3 separate regions of the Homo sapiens genome follow, and regions 1 and 3 are each linked to region 2. The links are contacts of gene promoters, found by promoter capture Hi-C in human tissues and cell types (Jung and others, 2019). All regions are on one chromosome and are shown on one strand. Each heading gives the region's core, a stretch centred on a gene start or on the middle of the fragment in contact. The rest is flanking DNA. Distances are from core to core; before and after follow the strand shown. Region 1 overlaps MERTK (MER proto-oncogene, tyrosine kinase). Region 2 holds the start of MERTK (MER proto-oncogene, tyrosine kinase). Region 3 overlaps ANAPC1 (anaphase promoting complex subunit 1).

Region 1 (3,958 bases), core at 1,323-3,822, 46 kb after region 2:
CACGATGGGCAGGACATCATTCTAGGCACAGAATTCTCCCATCTTTCTTCAGCCCTTCCTGTCACCATGATATCCAGGGGGCTACCAGGAGAGGGTCAGCCAGCTCCTTATTTGGAGATATTTGTCCTGTGTATTCTCTTTTCATCTTCTCCTGGTAACCTCTAAGCATTGTGACATCCAGCCACTGCCCCAAAGCATGAAAGGATCTGGCCTTTCCTTGATCCCTGGGACCTCCCCCATGCCCACCATTCATTCATCAGGTGCATTCCAAAATTATATTGCTCCTACAAAAGAACGAGGGGAAAGGGGAAGACAGAGCATTTCAAGTCAAAGGGAAGCCACTCAGATTTACACATCAGGAAATGCAATGACAGGGGACTGTTAACTCCTGGATCCTGGGAACAGTAAGGAAGTAATGTTAACCTGAGTAGCTCTGACCCCCCGAGTTCTGACTGATGCCATTGTTGAGCTGTGTCTTAGCTGCTCTATTTATCACAGGCCAATGAGGATCTGCAAAATGGTATTGTTGGGAAGAAGTAAATTTAAAATGTTTAGTGTTCAGAAAACTGAATTCAACCTAAGGAAACTCTGTCTCATTCAGACCTGGGGACCTCACTCACTACCACATGTCTGCTCCAGATGCTAACCAGGCTGTGCTATCCTCTGGCAGCTGCCACCCCTGCCTATCAGGCCATGGTTCAGGATGGAGCCCCCTCTACCCTTGACAGCTTCCTGGTTTCTTTTAAGCCTTAAGCCTCAGCCCTTCACAGGTTGAGGGATGAGATTTATTTTGTTTAGAAATAAATAGGTTATACAGGGAAGCAAGCTTCTAGGAAGGAAGGTGGAACTTCCATGTTTTTCTTCTTTTTCTTCGTTCCCCTGGTCATGGTCTTCTTTGCTGTGTTTAAAGAGGAGTGTCTTTGAGCCAATAAAGAAATCCTCTGGAGAGCATCTGAAAGTATTTAAAAATGTTCCCCGGCTGAGAACGGTGGCTCATGGCTGTAATCCTAGCACTTTGGGAGGCTGAGGTGGGAAGATGGCTTGAGCCCAGGAGTTCAAGGCTGCAGTGAGCCATGATGGTGCAACTGCACTCCAGCTTGGGTGACAGAGCGAGACCCCATCTAAAATAAAATAAAATAAAATGTGCATTTCAACATGTAAACACCGGGCATGTCCACCCCAGGAGAGATCATTAAGTACCCAGGGACTTGCACCTTAGGTGCACCTTCAAGCACTTGACCTGTGACTGCTGCAAATACAGTCATGCTGTCAGTGAGAGACCTTACAAAATGATGGCTAGGGCCCCAGAAAGTTCTAAACAGGACAAAGGCTACCAGCTCTCCATTTTTATAGTCATTGCAGTCCTGGTAAATTAGGTGAATATTGAAACCATACAAGTATGTTAAATGGAATTAGGGTCTAGTCTCAGGAGGTCATTTGGGATATGGAACAGTTGCCCTTGGCCCCTAAAAACCCATGGAGCCCCCCTAGTCATTGTGACCACCAAAAACAACTCCACAAATTTCCAAAATGCCTTGAGGGGGCAGTACCCCAATGCAGAGAACCACTGGTGCAGAGTCTACCATAGAAATCAAGACAGGTGGCCGGGCATGGTGGCTCATGCCCATAATCCTAGCACTTTGGGAGGCCAAGGTGGGTGGATCCCCTAAGGTCAGAAGTTCGAGACCAGCCTGGCCAACATGGCAAATCCCTGTCTCTACTAAAAAATGCAAAAATTAATCGGGCATGGTGGCGCATGCCTGTAATCCCAGCTACTCAGGAGGCTGAGGCAGGACAATCACTTGAACCCAGGAGGCAGATGTTGCAGTGAGCTGAGATCATGCCATTGTACTCCAGCCTGGGCTACAGAGTGAGACAGAATCTGTCTCAAAAAAAAAAAAAAAAAAAAAAATCAAGACAAGTGATAGCACATATATTAGTCAGGGTTTTTCCAAGAAACCGAACCTATAGGATCTGTGTCTACAGCTTTATCTAGAAAGAGAGAGAAAGAGGAATTATTTTAAGGAATTTTCCTTAGTTCCTTAAATTAACTCCTAAATTATTTATTAATTCCTAAATTATGAATTCCTTAAAATAATTCCTCTGTTTTAAGGAATTAGCTCACACACAGTGGGGGCTGACAAATATGGAATCAACAGGGTGTTGGGTGGAGACCCATGAAAGACTTGATGTTGCAGTCTTGAGTCCTCAGGCAGTTTGGAAACAGAAGCCCCTCTTTCCCTGGGGACCTCTGTCTTTTTCTTATAAGGCCTTCAACTGTTTGGATGGGGCCTGCCCCCATCATGAAGAGTAATGTGCTTTACTCAAAGGCTGCTGCTTTAAATGCTAGTGACATGTGAAAAGTACCTTCACAGCAACATCTAGGCTAGGGTTTGACCAAACAACTGCGTACAATGGCCTAGCCAAGCTGACATATAAAATTAACTATCACAGCATATGACAAAGAAGTTGAAGAAGTTTCCATCCTATAATAGGAACTCAAAGGGTAGTCACTGTAAATATCTTCATGTGTTTTTCTTTGCAGCATAACCAGTGTGCAGCGTTCAGACAATGGGTCGTATATCTGTAAGATGAAAATAAACAATGAAGAGATCGTGTCTGATCCCATCTACATCGAAGTACAAGGTAAGTCCACAGACCAGAGTCCCATTGCCAGAGAACTGTTTGTTTTAGGGCCTGTGTTAAATGTTTTGTGTATAATACTCTAGAGTTTTGCCTGCCTATTTATAACTCTGTATGCAAACCTTGCAAATCTATCAGCACTGAAATTTTACAAGGTACTCCACTTTGTAGTCTATAAGTAATAATGAAATGAATTCAATTCCTGAAGTTTGAGCTCTATTATAGGCATTACAGGTGAGATAAAAAGAGATTTTGGACTTCCTTGTCCACAGATTATTGACAATAAAAATAAGCTGAAGACTTCTTTTTAAGAAGCAAAATGCTTTCTACTATCCAGTTTCCAGTACTGGTACCAGATACCACTCACCTGGTCAAGTGGCTGTTGGCTTATTATTCAGCATCTTTTCCTGTCTTGCCTATGCAGACAGTGAAACCCTGGAGGGTGAGTGGTTTTCCTCGACTGGCTCAACAGCTCAGCCTGAGACTTCTTTTGGGCACTGGTATCTGTCAGGTGCATGGTTCAGAGAAATTCCATGACATCATATGAAGGTCCATGGGGATGAAGAGTGAGACATCAGGCTAGGAAAAGGCAATCTCTGCCCTCAGGGAACTTGAACTCTAATGGGCAATGTGAGCTGATGCACAGGTGAACCAGGCCAGGTGAGCCCAGGTCCTGGTTTGGTGCCCTGATTTGGGGGTTTGCATGCCTGGTTCTGCAATGGCAGTGCTGCAAGGAGGAAGCATCTTTATTATCACCCTCAGAGGTCACTCCTCACTACCCCTGGGGGCTTCCCTCTGGGGGCCTTGTGCCCCTCCTCTCTGAGGTGCCCCTCTTAGCAGAGCCATTAGGTCACCTCCCTTTTCTACTTTATCCTGACCTTCCTTGTCACAGGCTTTAGAGCAGGTGATTAGCTTTTCAGTCAGAAACATCTCCCACTGAAAGTCTGCTATGCTACCCATTCTTTTGTGAACCTGAAATTGATGCCCACCAATGTGGAGGGAAGCCTCAGGGAGCACAGATGGAAGGAGGAGGAGTGAGTGGGGAAGACAGAGGGGAGGGGGAAGAGACTCCCTCAGAGGAGTCTCTTCATGACCTTTGCTCTAGGCCCATCCCAGGCTGGACAGCTCTTTCTCAGGGTTACGTCAACATCAGCCAAAGAGGGGGTTTCCTACATTTGCAGCTAATTTGGGAAAAAAATATTTACAGGAGATTTTATTTGTCAGAATCCCAGAAAAATGCCCAGAGCAGGAACATATTAAGTCCAAACAGAGTTTCAAAAAAACCTTGAAACAGGATAAAAGAATTCCATTTCAC
Region 2 (4,022 bases), core at 1-2,500:
TTGCTGTCGGTGTAAGTAATAACCTGTCTAAACCCATCTGGGCTGCCTGTCTCCTTCCCGTAGCCAAATCTACGGGAAGTGTCCAGCCAGTGTAGGGGTCAAGGGACCGCTTGACGAGACCAACGTAAATTGAAGAGGCGTAAGGAGATGAGGCCAAAGAGGAAAGGGGACCAGGTCACGTAGAACCTCGTAGACCACTGCAGAACCTTGGCTTACGTACGCAGAGACAGCAGGAACCACTGATAGGTTTAGGGAGATTTGAGGAGAGGGACATGATTTGGCTTATGTTATGTTGTTAAAGGGACCACATTAAAATACATTCATTCTAAAAGTGTTACCTTTAAGAAACTACGTATATAAATTAAGTTACTGTTGCCATTATTAGCGTAAGTAGTTACATTTCTCTTACGACTCACTCTCTGCTACTGCCTCTTGGACCCTGCACACCTTGTGGAGGCCCATGAGAGTGACGTGCTGTGGTTCCCCCTCTCCCCACTCCTGCTCTGCACTTTGTCATTCACGTTCATCTCCCTCCTTGAGTGTCACCTCTCTCTGGCTCGTCACGGAGCCACGGCAAAGCGTCCTTTCCCAGGAACCCCTCCCCCTGGGGAGGTGAGCTCCTCGCCGCCAGGGCCGTGTCGCGCACCTCGGGCCGGGTACCCAGGCGGCGCTCGGCGGCGAGCGGAATGGATGTGGAGGAGCGCTCGGCAGGGAGCGCTGCCGCCCTGGCCTTGGCCTCTGGGAGCGGCGCGGCCAGGGTTTTCTGTGTCAGCCAAGCCCGGAATGCGGGGGCGCCTCTGGACCCTCCTCTTGGGTCTGGGGGCTGCCTCGGGCATCCTCTACTCCTCTCCCACCTTCTGTCCTTCCCCATCTCCCACCCACACGTGTGGGGCCCCGGACCCGCGCAGCGGCCAGAGCCTTCCGCTGTGGACCTCCAGTCCACCCCTCCCCTTCACTTCTCTTTCCGGCTCCCTCCGGGTCTCTCAGCCCCCTCCCCTTCCTCTCCGCCCCCTTCCCCGCCGTCTGCCCAGCGGCGGCCTTCGGCCCGCCCCTTCTCTCCAACCCCCTCCCTTTCCCCTTTACGCCCCTCCTCCCCCTCGTCCTCCCGCCCCCTCCCACCCCAACCTGCTGGGCCCGCCGGGACTCGCCCCCCTGCCCGCTCCTCTCCTCCAGCCCCGGCCGGCCTCGGCTCGGCCCCCGGCCCGCCCCTTCCAGCCCTCGGCACCTCCCGCCGGCCGCTTGGCTCCGCCACTCGGCACTCACTGCCCGGGCCGCCCGGACAGGGAGCTTCGCTGGCGCGCTTGGCCGGCGACAGGACAGGTTCGGGACGTCCATCTGTCCATCCGTCCGGAGAGAAATTACAGATCCGCAGCCCCGGGATGGGGCCGGCCCCGCTGCCGCTGCTGCTGGGCCTCTTCCTCCCCGCGCTCTGGCGTAGAGGTGAGTGCGCCCGGCTGGGGGCCAGGCGAGGGGGTGGGGGCTCCCAGGAGGAAGCAGGGGCCTCTGGGGAGGGAGCGCGTCCACAGGGGCGCGCCTGGCTGCTGGACAAGTTTGCAAACACCCTCCACCCACTGCGGTGCCAGAGGAGGGGGCGTAGGCGAACCTACCGTCCACTGACCGCGGCGCCTCAAGCGTCCCGAGGGCACCCAGCCTGGCTTGCGGGTGCGCATCGTGGTGAAGCCGGGTCGGGGTCGGCGTTGCAGGCTCCCCTCTTCACCGCAGAGGAGGAAATCGAGCTCGGCCGGGCGCGCTGCAAGTCCTGAAGTTCCGACGAGTGGAACGTAGGTAGCAGGTCTGGTCTGGGATGCGACGAGAACTTTCCACTAGAGTTGCATGGTGGGGCCCCGCTCTGGCCGGAGTCCCGGGGGCCACAGATCCGGTCTCCCGAGGGACCGGCGCGGGGCGAACGAACGGGCTGCGGGAGTCGGAGCCGCAGTCCGGGAGCCGCGATAGACTGAGGCCGAGCGACGGGCCAGGGGGGGACGGCAGTCCTGGCTGCTCCCAATGGGCCCTTACGGGCATTATTAGTATCCCTTTTTAGGGGCACCCAGAGAGTGTGGGAAAAGGGGAGCGTTCTTTTCACTCCTGTTATGGCAGAACAGAACTTACAGTGCTCGGCAGCGTTTACGTTTATCTGGATTCAGCGAAGTGTTGTTACAGGCTTTTTTTTTTTTAATTTGAGACCGAGTCTCGCCCTGTCGCCCAGGCTGGAGTGCCGCGGCGCGATCTCGGCTCACTGCAGGCTCCGCCTCCCGGGTTCAAGCGATTCTCCTGCCTCAGCCTCCCGAGTAGCTGAGACTATAGACGCGCGCTACCACGTCCGGCTAATTTTTGTATTTTTAGTAGAGACGGGGTTTCACCATGTTGGCCAGGATGGTCTCGATCTCTTGACCTCGTGATCTGCTCTCCTTGGCCTCCCAAAGTTCTGGGATTACAGTCGTGAGCCACCGCGCCCGGCTTGTTCCAGGCATTTTAATACAAGATGCTGGACTGATACGTGGAGGCAAGGAAGGCCGGTTTCATTCTGCTTGAACAGCTTATTTGGGGAGTGAGTGATGAACAGATTTCAAGTTTGATCGCTGATGCACTTCTTGAGGAGGCTGGAATAAACTTACCAGGCTTTACCCAAAAGAAAAAGAAAGGGGAAAAATGCTAAATAAACACATTCCAAGTATTTTCTCTCAGCTAAAAGGTTTCTATTTCCATTCAGCATGTAGATTTTCTCTCTTTTGATCGAGAATGCACTTGACTAGCCTTCACCTATTACAGTCAAAGATGTTTTTTAGGAATACCTGGAAAGCTCAGTTTATAGTCAAGTAAGTTACTTAAAAGTTTTTCCTTTGAGATTTTCCTTTGAAAGCTCATTTACTCAAATGAAAAATTCTTAAACAGTGCACCCACTTTTTGCACGTTAAATTACATAAGCAATTTATAATTTGGGGCAACATAGCAATTTGAAACAAACTTTAAGAGCCAGGCAAAGAACTAAAGCAGTTCTGTTCTCCACTGCCCCTCCCTCCACCAAACCTTCAAAAATTCCTCAGCATTTCTGCCAGCCCCATTTTTCATAATCTGCTGCAAATCTGTTATTTGTTGCTACTAGTGAGGACTGGCCGTGAATAGTCTTGGAGGTAGTGAATGTGGTGAGAACTATGGAGAAAGTAATGGGAACAATAGTTTTGTGTTAAATACTTAAAAATTGGAGTGCTTTTGTTTTTCTAAAATTTTAAAAGGCTGTAATAACAAATTTTTGTAGCTGACAATCAACTTTAATCAGACAATCATAAAAAGGCCTTTTAAAATCCACCCAGCTGGAAGAATGAAAAGTTTCACCAATCGTTCTTGCACTTTTTGCTTTTGGTTTTGAACTTTACCTATGAGATGTGTGACAGTTTTACATCTCACCTTGTGAAAAGCTTAAAGAATGGGATTCTCACTGGCAGAATTACAGCACAAAGGAGTGCTGTATGAAGAAATTAAACATGGAAATTAGACTCTTCATCTAATTTTAAGATTTTCCTATTACACATTGTGGGTCTGAGTGCTTTGCTGACCACACAGGGGAGACAGAGAGAGAGACAATGAGAATATGTGTGTAGATTCTACACTGTTAGCAGTATAGAAGAATGGGTAAATAAAATTTAAGCATCACTTTAACCCAGGAAATCCCCTCTGCCCCCCAACACACATACACACTACACGTCTCACAAAGACATGCACACACAGAACTGGAACTGCCAAACCAGGAGCATTTCGAGGCTTTCCAGTCTTTCCTTTCTGCTCAGTCTCTGATGGGGGTGCCATTGAGCAGCAAAATGAGGCAAGCGGTGGCTCTCTGAAGGGCCAGGGAGAGGATGGAGCAAGATAAATATAAATGTGGATAAAAATGAATGCATTATGAGGACTTAGCTCATGACGAGGCTGTGTGTGCAGCTAAACTCAACCCTTAGAGTAAATTAGGCTTTTAAGATTCTTTAATGTTAATATTTCTTTTCCAAACTGATATTGTAACATGTATTCCA
Region 3 (3,882 bases), core at 230-2,729, 45 kb before region 2:
AGTTGCCCCAATAAAATCCTTAGGCTTAAAAAACAAAAATAACAGTGAGAACTAATTATGCATAATTTTTTAAAAGCTATCTCAAACCCCTAATTTACGAAAAGATGGAATAAGCACATACCATGCTATTCCCTCATTAATCACCAAAAAGAAAAAAAAACTGAATAAAATTTATAATGCAACTAACAGAAGATTCTGAAAAAGTGAAGAAAAGAAGACAAACTGGCTAGTAACCTGAGACCCAGGAATGACCTAATGATGAATTCCCTAGGTTTCTGGTTTGATTCCTTACGTAACCAGGCCTTAGGCTTTCAAAGTGCCTATAACACAGACATGCCAACGTTCACAGACAAAACACGCCCTAAGAAAATCTTACTCTTTCCAGCCAAAGTGTTGGGAAAAGAATGACTGACCAGGACAGAAACTTTTCACTATATCTGCCCTACTCTTTGCAAACACCAAGAAAAAAGTCATGGCCATCCCTTCCTCCTCATCAGGAGGCACAGTGAAAATTTTGAATGTCCCTCGTCTATTTGAGGAAGTCCCCTTCTATTTCTAGATGCTGAGGATTTTTTTTAATCATGGATATTTTATTTTATCAAATGATTTCTCTGCATCTATTTAGATCCTTGGTCAGCAAACCATGTTCCATGACCAAATCTGGCTCGTATCCTGTTTTTGTACAGTCTGTGAGCTAAGAATAGGTTTTACGTACTTAAATGGTTAAGGAAAAAAAAAACAGAAGACAAATATGTAACAGAGACTGCATGTGGCCCATAGAGGCTAAGATACTTGTCTGAACTCCTACATAAAAAGTTTGCCAGGCTTGATGTGGTGGCTCATGTCTGTAATATCCCAGCACTTTGGGAGGCTGAGGTGGGAGGATCGCTTGAGTCAGGAGGTCATGGGTGCAGTGAGCTGTGATCCCACCACTGCACTCCAGCCTGAGTAACAGAGAGAGATACTGTATCAAAAAAAAAGAAGAGAAAAGAAATTGCCAAGGATGGAGAGGACATGAACAACATTATCAACCAAATGGAATGAACTGACATTTATAAAATACTCAAGGGTGCCTTCTTGGTGATTTGGCCCTTTAAAGTCTCTCTTTGTTCCTGGTCATTTTTTTTTCCCACTTTATAGAGACTCCAGCTATCTTCTGATTACTGTTTGCATAATATATCTTCTTTCCATCCTTTAACTTACCCATGTCATTATATTTGAAGAACACTTCTTATAACCAACATATATAGTTGGGCTGTATTTTCTAATCTCTTCCGCTAGTCTCTGTTATTTGTGTTAGACCATTGTATTTAATTAGTGGCCTAGTGGGATTTAAATCTGCCATTTAATATTTGTTTTCTGTATGTTCCCACTTTCTTTGCTCATCCAGAAGAAGCAACTCTTCAAGTTTGATCATAAGATTTTGGCAATTCTGTTCAAGTTTGGCAATTCTGTTCAGGTTTAATCATAAGATCTTGGCAATTTAGTCACATCTTCAGGCTCTACTTCTAATTCTAATTCTCCTGCTATTTCCACCACATCTGCAGTGACTTCCTCCACTGAAGTTTTGAGCCCCTCAAAGTCACCCATGAGGGTTGGAATCAACTTCTTCCAAATTCCTGTTTATGTTGATATTTTGTCCTCCTCCCATGGATCATGAATATTCTTAATGGCATCTAGAAAGGTGAATCCTTTCCAGAAGGTTTCTTTTTTTTTTTGAGATGGAGTCTCCCTCTGTCGCCCAGGCTGGAGTGCAGTGGCGTAATCTCGGCTCACTGCAAGCTCCGCCTCCTGGGTTCACGCCAGTCTCCTGCCTCAGCCTCCCGAGTAGCTGGAACTACAGGCACCCGCCACCACGCCCGGCTAATTTTTTGTACTTTTAGTAGACACAGGGTTTCACCGTGTTAGCCAGGATGGTCTCGATCTCCTGACCTCATGATCCACCTGCCTCGGCCTCCCAAAGTGCTAGGATTACAGGTGTGAGCTGCCACGCCCAGCCCAGAAGGTTTTCAGTGGACTTTGCCAGATCTCTCAGAGGAATCACTATCTATGGCAGCTCCAGTTAAGTAATGTATTTCATAGTAAGACTTTAAAGTCAAAATTACTCCTTCACAGGCTGCAGAACAGATGTGTCAGCAGGCATGAAAACAACATTCATCTCCTGTACATCTCCCTCAGAGCTCTTAGATGACCAGGTGCACTGTCAATGAGCGGTAATATTTTGAAAGGAATCTTTTTTCTGAGCAATACGTCTCAACAGTGGGCTTAACACATTCAGTAAACCATGCTATAAACAGGTGTGCTGGCATCCAGTCTTTGTTACTCCATTTATAGAGCCCAGGCAGAGCAGACTTGGCATAATTCTTAAGGGCCCTAAGATTTTTGGAATGGTAAATGAGCACGGGCTTCAACTTTAAGTCACCAGCTGCATTAGCCCCTAACAAGAGAGTCAGACTGTCCTTTGAAGCCAGGCACTGACTTCTCCTCTCAGGTTATGAAAGTCCTAGATGGCATCTTCTTCCAACAGAAAGCTGTTTCATCCACACTGAAAATCTGTTTAGTGTAGCCACCTGCATCAATTATCTTAGCAGCTTCTACATCAGCACATGCTGCTTCACCTTGCACTTCTGTGTTATGGGGAGGGCTTTTTTCCTTAAACCTCAAGAATCAACCTCTGTTAGCTTACAACTTTTCGTCTGCAGCTTCTTCACCTTTCTTGGCCGTCACAGAATTGAAGAGAGTTAAGGCCTTGCTGTGGATTCGACTTCAGCATAAGGGAATGTTATGGCTGGTTTGATCTTCTGTCCAGACACTAAAACTTTCTTCATATCAGCGATAAGGCTGTTTCGCTTTATCAGTTGCCATGTTCACTGAAATAGCACTTTTAATTTCCTTCGAGAGCTTTTCCTCTGCATGCACAAGTTGGCTCTTGTGCACAGGTGGTCTGGCTCTCAACCTATCTCAGCTTTCAACACGCCTTCCTCACTAAGCTTAATCATTTCTAGTTTTTGATGTAAAGTGAGAAACCTGTGATTCTTCCCTTCATTTGAAAACTTAGAGGCCATTAGAGGGTTACTAATTGGTCTAATTTCAATATTGTTTTGTCTCAGGATATAGTGAGGCAGGAGGAGACAGAGAGACAGGAAAGGGGTCAAATGATCAGACAGACCACACAAAACATTTATCAATTAAGTTCCTCATCTTATATGGGTACAGTTCGTGGTGCCCCAAAAGAATTCCAATAGTAACATCAAAGACCACTGATCACAGGTCACCATAACAGATAAACTAATAACAAAAAGGTTTGAAATATTGCAAGAATTATCAATATTTGAAACAGTGACACAAAATGAGCACATGCTGCTGGAAAAATGGCACCAACAGACTTGCTCAACACGAAGTTGCCACAAACCTTCAATCTGTAAAAAAAAATGCAGTATCTGTGAAGTACAATAAAGCAAAGCACAAAATGAGGTACGATGGAATACTATTAAATATATACATCACACTGAATGAGTAAACAACACACGCATCAACACAGACAAATCTAAAACAAATATAATGTTGAGCAAAATAAGTATATCAGAGGCGAGTACATGGTATCTTTTTTTATATAAAAATTCAAAAACAAGGAAAACTAAATAATGCATTCTTTAGTGATACATACATAACTGTAAAAACTAGTAATACAAACAACTGATTTATCACAAAATCAGGATTCTATCTCGAGGGCAGGGGAAGATAGGATGCAATCACAAAAGAATGTAATAAAAATAAGGATACTGGCAATATTCTATTTCTTAACCAGAGTACTGGGTAGATGAATATTCACTTCATTATTATTATTCAAATTGTATGTATTTAAATTTCATAATTTAAATT

The links. The method cuts DNA at HindIII sites, captures the fragments that hold promoters and counts their contacts. A contact is called where the count stands out against the background at its distance.
Region 1: a fragment that was not itself captured here is called in contact with the fragment with the promoter of MERTK in region 2 in 1 of the 25 tissues and cell types used here (dorsolateral prefrontal cortex).
Region 3: a fragment that was not itself captured here is called in contact with the fragment with the promoter of MERTK in region 2 in 1 of the 25 tissues and cell types used here (bladder).

What each region holds. Positions count from the first base shown.
Region 1 is chr2:111,942,415-111,946,372 of GRCh38, forward strand. It overlaps MERTK (MER proto-oncogene, tyrosine kinase), which reads left to right. Exons shown (of 19, transcript NM_006343.3): 3 at 2,546-2,646. Among named protein-coding and RNA genes, the nearest start is that of MERTK, 46 kb to the left of the region's middle. The HindIII fragment of the contact is 5,421 bases long and covers 1-3,958 here.
Region 2 is chr2:111,897,357-111,901,378 of GRCh38, forward strand. It overlaps MERTK (MER proto-oncogene, tyrosine kinase), which reads left to right and starts at 1,251. Exons shown (of 19, transcript NM_006343.3): 1 at 1,251-1,440. The coding sequence starts at 1,380. RefSeq lists an enhancer at 390-719. The HindIII fragment of the contact is 10,682 bases long and covers 1-4,022 here.
Region 3 is chr2:111,852,017-111,855,898 of GRCh38, forward strand. The region is part of intron 13 of ANAPC1 (anaphase promoting complex subunit 1); the gene reads right to left. Among named protein-coding and RNA genes, the nearest start is that of ANAPC1, 30 kb to the right of the region's middle. The HindIII fragment of the contact is 4,477 bases long and covers 1-3,718 here.